3 separate regions of the Homo sapiens genome follow, and all the other regions are linked to region 1. The links are contacts of gene promoters, found by promoter capture Hi-C in blood cells and fetal thymus (Javierre and others, 2016). All regions are on one chromosome and are shown on one strand. Each heading gives the region's core, a stretch centred on a gene start or on the middle of the fragment in contact. The rest is flanking DNA. Distances are from core to core; before and after follow the strand shown. Region 1 holds the start of YIPF5 (Yip1 domain family member 5). Region 2 overlaps ARHGAP26 (Rho GTPase activating protein 26). Region 3 overlaps ARHGAP26 (Rho GTPase activating protein 26).

Region 1 (3,150 bases), core at 119-2,618:
AGTATGCAACTTATAACACGTGTGGCACTGACCATAAGGGTTTGAGAAGGAGGAGTAATAAAAATGATTATCAACTGCTGTATGAAAATCGCCTGATGATTCGTAATAAGGAGCTTACATCATTAAATAATGTCACTAAGCACTTTCAATTAGCACTGATAAAAGTCTCAGAGTTGGACTGATTTAACTACTAACAAAATACTTTAATTTTTCACTGGTCCTATGAACTAACAGCCTATCTCCTAGGTACCTGAAGCTCCCATCATCTTCTAAATACAGAAATACTGTTACTAGAAAACAGTTCTTCAAACAAGCTACTTTTCCATTCATGGTACACCTGAAGAGTTTGCAGAAGACACTCAACTCTTAAATAGAACAATACCTTCGAAGCCAAGCCAGTGTCACATATCTCTCTAGAGGAAGAAGATTATGCATGAAAGATCATACTCCTGATAAAGGACATGTTCACATATTGTTTTAGGCAGAACCAAATATTCTAAATATGTGTTTTCACTGCAATGTAGACTAAATTAATTGCCAAAGATGAAAAGTTACTTGCTATAGGGTCCTCCACTTCCTCCATAATCATAGGACTGCTGTGACTGATCATCGATGCTGTAACTTGTCTGGTAGAAATCCGTGTTTAAGTTTTCAAAGCCTGACATTGCAAATAATCTGTAATAAAAGAGAAATGGCAAATATTCCTTATGCCCAAGGTTCTACTGAATTCGTTCCTGGCAGTCTGCTTAAGCAAATAGAAACACAACAAATATTTTTTCAGTAATTCGGAGAGGGGATGGGGGCGGAAAGTACGCAGCATTTGAACGACGGTAGCGGAGAGAGAGTAAGAAAATGTATATTCTTTTAAGTTGCGGCCCAGTAAGACAACTCCACCTTAAAGAGCTGATATGCCTTCCATTAGGGGCGAGGTCGTGGGAGTTGTGGTTCCATAAGCGGTCTAAAATATCAATAACAACAAAGATGATTTTTCACCTTAGGACTGGGCTTTACAGCTGACAAGGCGACTGCTTCCTTGCAAAATAAGGCCTGCGGCCTGCCAGGAAAAAGTGCAGAATCTGGAAGGTCGCGCCTGAGGTGCAGGGGACCGCGTCAGGGCAAGGGCTTGAATGAGAGCGAGGGTCTGAGCGAAAGGACCAGGGCGCGGCGCCGAAAGACGGCAACAAGCCCATTTGCACGGGTGTGGAGAGAAGCTGAACACTGTGCCACGGGCCTGGGTCACTCACCAAACTCTGAGGCTGCGCTGGCGGCAAAGGCAGTAGCTTCACTAATCCCAAACAACCCCCAAACTCTGTTTCAGACCCTGAACCAGCCCCGTTGCTACGTGTCACAGGGCCAAAGAACGGCTTCCGGGGCACGCCCGCTCGCGCAGGCGTGTTAGCAGGTTGGGCACCGGTGGGCGGGAGGAGGAGACACGAGTATGGAGCTTGCGCAGTATCTACCCAACCTGCGGCTGGCCCGTGCCAAAGAGGAAAGTGCTTCCGGCAGCCTGGTTAGGGGTGGAACCAGGAAAGCGCAGGCGTAGCAATTGCTGCTTACTCGTAGGTAGGAGGAGGAGTTTCTCAGACCTAGGTGATGGAGGAAGACTGGGAGGCGCTAAAATGAGACAGACGGAGTCCCCTCTCCTGTCCACAAACTACAATGCCTACAATGCCTCGGTGTCAGCATTTACTGTGATTCAAGCACTGTGCTAAAGTGTTTGTATGTATTATTTAATCTTTACAACCTAATGAGATGGTTACCCTATTTCCCTTTTGTAAGTGAAGCTATTAAGTATTCATTCATTCTGTGCTAGCTGCTGGGGATACTGTGGTAAATATAAGCTAGGTGACATCTACCCACCTGGAGTTGGTGGTGGAGAGGGGTAATCGAACACATACAAATGCATGTGAAATTGCTACTAATATTCTTTAGTGTTCCATAATTCTTTGAAAGAGTAACATTCATCTGGGAAGAAGAGTCTGTAAAGCCACTATAAGAGGGTTATCAAAGGGTGAGTGGGAGTTAGAGAAGACCAGAAAAGAGAAGAAAGGGCAACGGGAAAGGAGGATAAGGGAAAATAGCCTGAATATTTTAGGCAAAGAGAACAATGTGTGCAAGATCTGGGAAGCATGGTCTGAGGAAAGATGAAAATCGAGCTCTGAACTTCAGCATTATTAACATTTTGAGTCAGGATGTTTCTTTATTGGGGGCTGCCCTGTGCATGATGCTTAGCAGTAGCATCCCTAATCTCTAGCCATTAGATGCCAGTACTCCCCCCAACCAACCACCACCACCATCACCACCAAGTTGTGACAGCTAAAAATCTCTCCAGACATTGCCAAATCCAAATGTCCTTGGGGGCGGTGGGGGCAACATTAGCTGAATTTGTCAACCACTCTTCTAAGTGGAACCTGAGTGACTGGAACAGCAAGTGAGGGGAGCCACATAGGAGTTGAGGCTGGAATAACAGGAAGGGGCCAGGAAATATCCTGTGGGATTTGTGTGTTGGTTCTAAAAGAAGTGAAGATTGTGAACTGATGAGTGATGTTTAAATTGTTTTCTTTTGAAAATGATTGCTTTGGCTCCTGTGTTAAATCACTTTCCCAAGATGGTGGAATCCCGAATATTGTGACTCGAAATAAGATGCTATTAACTAATGAGCAGAACTTTCTTCAGGGTTTATAGCAATAAAATTTATCATGAGCCACTGCATTATATTCTGGGATCAAAATCCTGAGGCCCTCACAAAAGAAGCCAGACCATTGTTGGGGACTAGTTTCCAAAGGAACAATAAAATTTCACTTAAAACTTTTCTCTCAACACCCCCCACCCCAATAAAACAAACAGAAAACGCACTCCCCTCCAAACAAAAATAGCAACAACAAAAGGATGTAAGACCCAACCAAAAAACCTAGGATTGTACTCTAGAGACCAACAGGCAGCTGCCCTTTGAGGTTTTTACCCATTAGCGAATTTATTTGTTTTATTTTTGTGGATACATCATAGTTGTACATATTTATGAGATAAATGTGACATTTTGATACAAGCATACAATGTGTAATAATGAAATCTGGGTAATTGAGATATATCTGTCGCCTCAGACATTTGTCATTGCTTTGTGTAGAGAAAATTATAAATCTACTCCTAGTT
Region 2 (3,305 bases), core at 604-3,103, 1.2 Mb before region 1:
TCCATTCTTCCCTCGATTGATTTGTAGTGCCAGTGTTCTTGCATTTTAGGTTTGCATATTTTAGTTCTGTCTCTGAGCCCTTTATTCAGGTTTTTTGTGTAGCTGTTTTTGTCCCAATACCTCTCTGTTTTTAATAATAACTTTGAGGCAACTCTTAATATCTAGTTATATAAGTCTCCTCTATTTATTCTCCCTTTTGAGGTTTGACTTGGGTATTTATGAGTCTTTATCCTTCTGTATAAATTCTATAATAAGTTTAAGAAGTTTCCCCTAAAATAAAATTTTTCTTTGCGAGTGCATTGAATCATACAGGTTATTTGGAGAAAGTTGACACCTTTGTAATATTAAGTCATGTCTTCCAAGGGTTTTGAATGTCTTTCCATTTATTCAGACCACCAGTGTTTTTTATTAGGATTTTATTTTTCTGCCTAGAGATCGTGTGTGCTCCTGGTCAAGTTAATCCCTAAATACTAAATTTAAAAACCAATATTTTATTTTGCCAGCCCTGCTACCCATGGGGACCCTTCCTGGATTTGCTTCTAGAATGTCAGGAATCTATATCAGTGACACCAGATTCTCTAATTTGTCAAACTCTTACCTAGTAGAGAAGGGAAGGGGAAAAAGGGAGTATTGGTAATAAAGAAGAAGAAAGTATGATATTGTTTCTTCTTAAGCTTTTTTTTTTGAGGAAGTGGTCACTGCCAGTGTCAGTCACCTAGTTATCTGATACTTGTCATTGATTCGTCCCTTTCATTATTACAAAGAACAAGACTTCCCTGGGCAAGAACCATTTCTCCCATCTCACCCGCTGCAGCCCCGTTTGCTGTATCTCTCGATGTCTTTTTGTCTTTTTGCTGTTCCCTACCTTTGGGTACAAGGTAGGGAATATCTTTAGGGAGTTATAAAATTTACTCCCCAAAGACTATGAGAATTGGTTCATTTTTCTTTGTAATGAGTCCAGGTTGGAAGCAGGATGAGAGGCCTGTTCTCAGCTCAGGCTGCTATTGTCCTGCCGTCCCACCTGAGGGAAGGTTAGAAAGCCGAGAACTTGTCAGAGAGAACACACCAGTCCAGTGCAAGGGAGTAAGAGAAGGGCAGGCTCTTACAGTGTGAGTTGGTCTTTTCCAAGTTTGATGTTTTAAATAACAAATGTCACTGCCTACTTAACTCTAAAAAGATTAGCTTGTTTACAAGAATGCTGCCCTCCCACTGTTTCTCCAGCTGCTTGAAGGCTGAAGTCTGACAGATTGAGGCAGAGAGGGCTCAGTCTCCTAATCTTGACTTTATAGTGCCACTTTCCTCAATGTGGGTATTAACTCAGATTCCATAGGTTAATCGGGTTATGTTGAAAGGAATATGCTGAAGTTGCTGCAGGCATGCCTTCTCATGCATGTCAGGACCTGGCTTAACACTGGCCATCTGGCTTTTCAGAATGCCATTTTGTAGTTCACTCCACTTCTCACTCTTGTTCAACATTTTCCTGTTACTCCCACCTGGATCTTGTGCCGGATGAAACTGCAGGAGTCCAGGCTTCCTGTAGCTCTTCCTTCAGTGAATGCCTCTAGAAGTTCTTGGACTCCTGGCCTCACGTGATCCTTCCATCTTGGCCTCCCAAAGTGCTGGGATTATAGGCATGAGCCACCACGCCCAGCCTTCTGGGAGTTCTTAAGGGCAGGTGGCACTGAGATATATGAGTACCGAGAGGTAAGGACACTCATAACTAGAACACACATCTGTCTCTACCTTTAAAGCTCATGTGATCTGCTGTGGAGGTTCAGACCACAGGGGAACAATAGACAGATGGCCCAATTACATCGTGTGGGTGTATGTCATATTCAAACCATCTACAGAAGTACCCAGGGTGCAGACTACATGCCCAGAGCTCATGGATTTGAGAGTGAGCTACACTTGAAAAATGGAAATTTCCTCCCTTCTCTCCTCCCCAGAAGAAGAAAAAATATAACACTTCCTCCTCTTTGCATCCAAGTCCTAGTCCTTTCTTTCCTTGTGGTTTGTTTTTAATCTAGTGCTCTAGTGCTTTTTTTTTTTTTTTTTTTTTTTTGAGATGGAGTCTTGCTCTGTTGCCCAGGCTGGAGTGCAGTGGCATGATCTCCGCTCACTGCAAGCTCCCCCTCCCGGGTTCACGCCATTCTCCTGCCTCAGCCTCCCAAGTAGCTGGGACTACAGGCACCCGCCCTCACGCCCGGCTAATTTTTTTGTAGTTTTTAGTAGAGACAGGGTTTCACCGTGTTAGCCAGGATGGTCTCGATCTGCTGACCTCATGATCCGCCCATCTCGGCCTCCCAAAGTGCTGGGATTACAGGCGTGAGCCACTGCACCTGGCCTAATCTAGTGCTTTTATAAGAATCCTTTATATTTGAATAAAAATGCTGAAGAACCCACTGCAGTTTGCCAATTTGTCATTCACACTGGGAGGTGGGGAGAAGAGCAGTGATTGAAGAAGGAAATATGAACTCATTGTAGAATATTACAGAAATACAGCAAAATGATTTTGAAACATTCAGTCAAAAATCATTGGTAATATTATTCCCAGAGATACTTCCTTCTTGCCTTTTTTAAATGATGTCTTGTATGTATTTTGTCAATGTCAGTATGAATTTTAATTTAACTGGCATTATGTTGAATATGCTTGTTGTATTCTGCTTTAAAAATTACAGACATTTTCTGATGTCATGAAATGTTTAGAAGTATCACCTGTCATGGTTGTTTAATATTCTGTCATTGGACTATATCTTAATTTGTTGAATCATTTATCATTGTTAGACTAATGCTCTTTCCAGGTTTTTGGTATTACAAATAACATTGGCCTATGTTATTCATAATAGCTTCAAAAGTTATTAATTTCATCAGTTATTGGCCTTGTACATCAGCCTTTGTACGTATCTCAGATCATTCTCTTTGGGTAGATTCCGCCACGTGGATTAGAGAGAGGGTTTGCATGGAGGAGTAATGTGTGGCTGGTGTAGAATAGCATCCTGGGTGTAGAACTTTGGACAGGTGGTGCGCCTCTCTAAGCTTCCATTTCCTCTTCTGTAAAATGGGGATAATAATACCCCTGCTTCATAAACTCATTGTAAGAATGAAAGTTCAGCACATTAGTATCTGCACATTAGTTGGTAAGTGCCTAATTACTCTTGGTTATTACTCTTATCATCTGGCCAGGCCAGTTACTCCCACAACAAAAGGAAAAACCCACTGGAAAGGAAAAGCCAGCTGGATTGGTAACACTGCTCTTGAAGGGAGGAAGACAACCTGCTACTGTTTCTCAGTCTTGGTGCTTTATG
Region 3 (3,233 bases), core at 198-2,697, 1.2 Mb before region 1:
AGGGGTTCATTCATGATGGTGAAATATTAAAAATTATAGGGACTAAGAGTATGGCATTTCAAAGCTGGTTTGTTTCAGGCCCCCCTTTTGATGCCTTAGGAAATTAAGATACAGAGAGACGAAGAGGTTTGATCCGGGTCCCACAGTAAGGCAGTGACTGATTAGGGCCACTATACTTGTTAGCTCCCAGGGCTCCCTGCCCATTCAAATCATAGCTTATAGATGGCCATGTAGTTAGGTGAGTCCCCTGAAAATTAGCCTCGAGCATATAGATCTTTACAATGCTCAGCACACTTACCTGCTTGTCCTTTTAGCTGAGGGGGTAGGAGGCAGATCTCAGTTTTATTAATATAGTGAGGGTTCCCAAAGGATATATGAATCAATTTTATAATATGAGAACTGTTTTGGGGGAAGGAGAAAGAGGAGAGTGAGGCGGGTTAAGGCTACTTTTTCCTAAATTTGTATTTAAAACCAGTGAGTTTCAAATCTAGGTTATGACTCAGAAGCACCTCTAAATAATGTTTATAAACTAGGCTAACTAGGGGGATTAATTCAAGGTGAATTTTTCTTTCTGGCTGCTGTGGGGGTTAAAAAAATATCAAGGTAGGTTATAAACATAAAATCTAAAACTATAAAGCCTTCAGAAGAAAACATAGGACAAAATCTATGCGATCTGGGATTGGCAAAAGTTATGTAATAGGACATAGAAAGTGATAGCCCTACAAAAACATGAAAAAAAATTGACTTGATTTAAATTAAAAGCTAGTGCTTATCAAAAGACACCATTAAGAAATCAACTGGCAAGCTGTAGAATAAGAGGACATATTCGCAAACCATATATCTGACAAAGGACATATCCAGAATGTATAGAGAACCCATAAAACTCAGTAATAAAAAGAAGAACCTAACTAAAAGACAGAAAAAAGACTTGAAGAAACGCCGGACAAAAGATGGCCCAATACATACATGAAAAAGTATACATCATGGATCATCAGAAAAATGCAGTTTGAGACTATAATAAGATACTGCTACGCATACCCATTAGAACAGCTAAAAGTAGAAGATTGACAACACAATGAAAAGATTGGCAAGTGCTGGTGAGGATGTGAAGCAACCCAAACTCTCATACATTATTGGTGGGGGTGTAAGTAAAATGGCACAACTACTGTCGACAAAGGCTTGGAAGTTTTCTGTTTAATAACAAAAAACTCTACTGTAGAATCCAGCAGTTCCACTCCTAGGTATTTACCTAAGAGAAGTGAAAACACATGTCTTCAAAAAGATTTGTACAAAAACCTTTGGACCAGCTTTATGATAGCTACAGACAGGGAACCACCTAGGTGTCCATCAACAGAGGAATTGATAAAACTATGGTATATTCAAACATTAAATTTCAACTCAGAAGTAAAAAGGACTAAAGGTATTGGTTCACACCACAACATGGATGAATATTAAAAATTTTATGCTGAGTGCAATCCCATTACTGGGTATATACCAAAAGGATTATAAATCATATAAATCATTCTATAAAGACACATGTACACGTATGTTTATTGCAGCACTATTTACAATAGCAAAGACTTGGAACCAATTCAAATGCTCATCAATGATAGGCTGGATAAAGAAAATGGGGCACATATACACCATGGAATACTATGCAGCCATAAAAAAGAATGAGGTCATGTCCTTTGCAGGGACATGGATAAAGCTGGAAGCCATCATTCTCAGCAGACTAACATAGGAACAAAAAACCAAATACTACATGTTCTCACTCATAAGTGGGAGTTGAACAGTGAGAACACATGGACACAGGGAGGGGAACATCACACACCAGGGCCTGTTGGGGGATGGGAGGCAAGGGGAGGGAGAGCATTAGGACAAATACCTAATGCATGCAGGGCTTAAAATCTAGATGATGGGTGGATAGGTGCAGCAAACTAACATGGCACATGTATACCTATGTAACAAACCTGCATGTTCTGCACATGTATCCCAGAACTTAAAAAAAAAAATTTATGCTGAGTGAAACAGAGTAGCTATAAAAGAATATATATGATGTAAGTCTGTTTGTATAGTGATCTAGAATAAGCAAAACTAATTGGGGGTGCAAAACAGAACAGTGGTTGCCAGTGCATGGGGTGTGTGAGGGGTGGGAGTAAGATGGAAGGAGGTCTGAGGGAACTATCTGAGCTGATGTTTCTATCTTGATAGAGGTTTAGCTTACATGGGTATATGAAATTGTCACAATTCATGATTGGCATGCTTAAGAATTATGTATTTTATTGTATGTACATTTTACATTTAAAAATGGACAAATATTGAACTTTAGATGATATGTGTTCTGAAATGTTTAAAAGTGCTGATATCTGCAACTCCTCTTAAAATTTATTAAAAAGCAAGATGGACTGATGGATGATAGAAAGATGGCTAGATATGTGATAAGGCAAATATAGCAAAATATGAACAACTGTAGAATGGAGGTGATGGGTATATGCATGTTTACTGTCTCTTCTTTCATCTTTTCTGTATGTTTGAGAATTTTTATAAGGGTATGTGGATTGGGAGTAAATGTGCTGTTCTGGCTGGCCTAAGTCACACTATTCCTGGAGTCGGAAGTGGAGTGGATTCTGCCTGTGATGGAGGTGGGGGACCCACACAGAGTGCAGAATTCTAGAATCTACAGTTCCATTTTAGAAACCTCATTCTGCTCCTTGGGAGTTGTGGGAGAATACTGAGATTCTCCATGTGATCACAGTGCTGGGGATACCCTTTACTGCCAGCTCAAAGCAACAGAATAAAAGAGTGAATATTCTCAGAATCTCTTGTTGCATGCATACGAGTTGGCATCAAGATTATTTTTGGATTTGGGGTAGGAAACTCAGCTTCGAGTCATAGATCTAGAAATGCAGTCCTCTGAACTGACAGCTGTTTGTGGCAAGGGAAGAAGTCACCTTTCCCTGTGTCTGTGTTGGATAACATAACATTCACCTTCTGCCTCTCCAAGGGGCATTGTGGGGATGAAGGCGATCATGAACGTGCTTTGAGTTTGTCTGACTGCATCAGCCTCGAGTTGCAATGAAGACAGCTATGCATGCCACTGCCCGGAACCTCCTGGAAGAAGGGACTGGAGGTTGAAAGGAGCTGCATAGTGCTGTGACTCACTCTCTGCCCGTTGTTTCTCCTGGGCTGGGACCCACTTGGGCAGCAGAAGAGCCTTATGAGCTCCTACTTTG

Evidence for each region. The method cuts DNA at HindIII sites, captures the fragments that hold promoters and counts their contacts. A CHiCAGO score of 5 or more calls a contact.
Region 2: a contact is called between a fragment that was not itself captured here and the fragment with the promoter of YIPF5 in region 1, in 2 of 17 cell types (naive CD4 T cells and fetal thymus). The highest score is 7.0, in naive CD4 T cells.
Region 3: a fragment that was not itself captured here is called in contact with the fragment with the promoter of YIPF5 in region 1 in 6 of 17 cell types (naive CD8 T cells, naive CD4 T cells, total CD4 T cells and 3 more); the score reaches 9.2 in naive CD8 T cells.

Annotation. Positions count from the first base shown.
Region 1 is chr5:144,169,291-144,172,440 of GRCh38, forward strand. YIPF5 (Yip1 domain family member 5) reads right to left here and starts at 1,369. Exons shown (of 6, transcript NM_030799.9): 1 at 1,245-1,369; 2 at 556-675. The coding sequence starts at 665. KCTD16 (potassium channel tetramerization domain containing 16) reads left to right here and starts at 1,583. Exons shown (of 4, transcript NM_020768.4): 1 at 1,583-1,719. RefSeq lists an enhancer at 1,231-1,510. The HindIII fragment of the contact is 8,610 bases long and covers 1-3,150 here.
Region 2 is chr5:143,018,595-143,021,899 of GRCh38, forward strand. The region is part of intron 12 of ARHGAP26 (Rho GTPase activating protein 26); the gene reads left to right. Among named protein-coding and RNA genes, the nearest start is that of ARHGAP26-AS1, 150 kb to the left of the region's middle. RefSeq lists enhancers at 952-1,001, 1,422-1,631. The HindIII fragment of the contact is 2,362 bases long and covers 673-3,034 here.
Region 3 is chr5:142,999,034-143,002,266 of GRCh38, forward strand. All of the region lies in intron 11 of ARHGAP26 (Rho GTPase activating protein 26), which reads left to right. Among named protein-coding and RNA genes, the nearest start is that of ARHGAP26-AS1, 130 kb to the left of the region's middle. The HindIII fragment of the contact is 4,886 bases long and covers 1-3,233 here.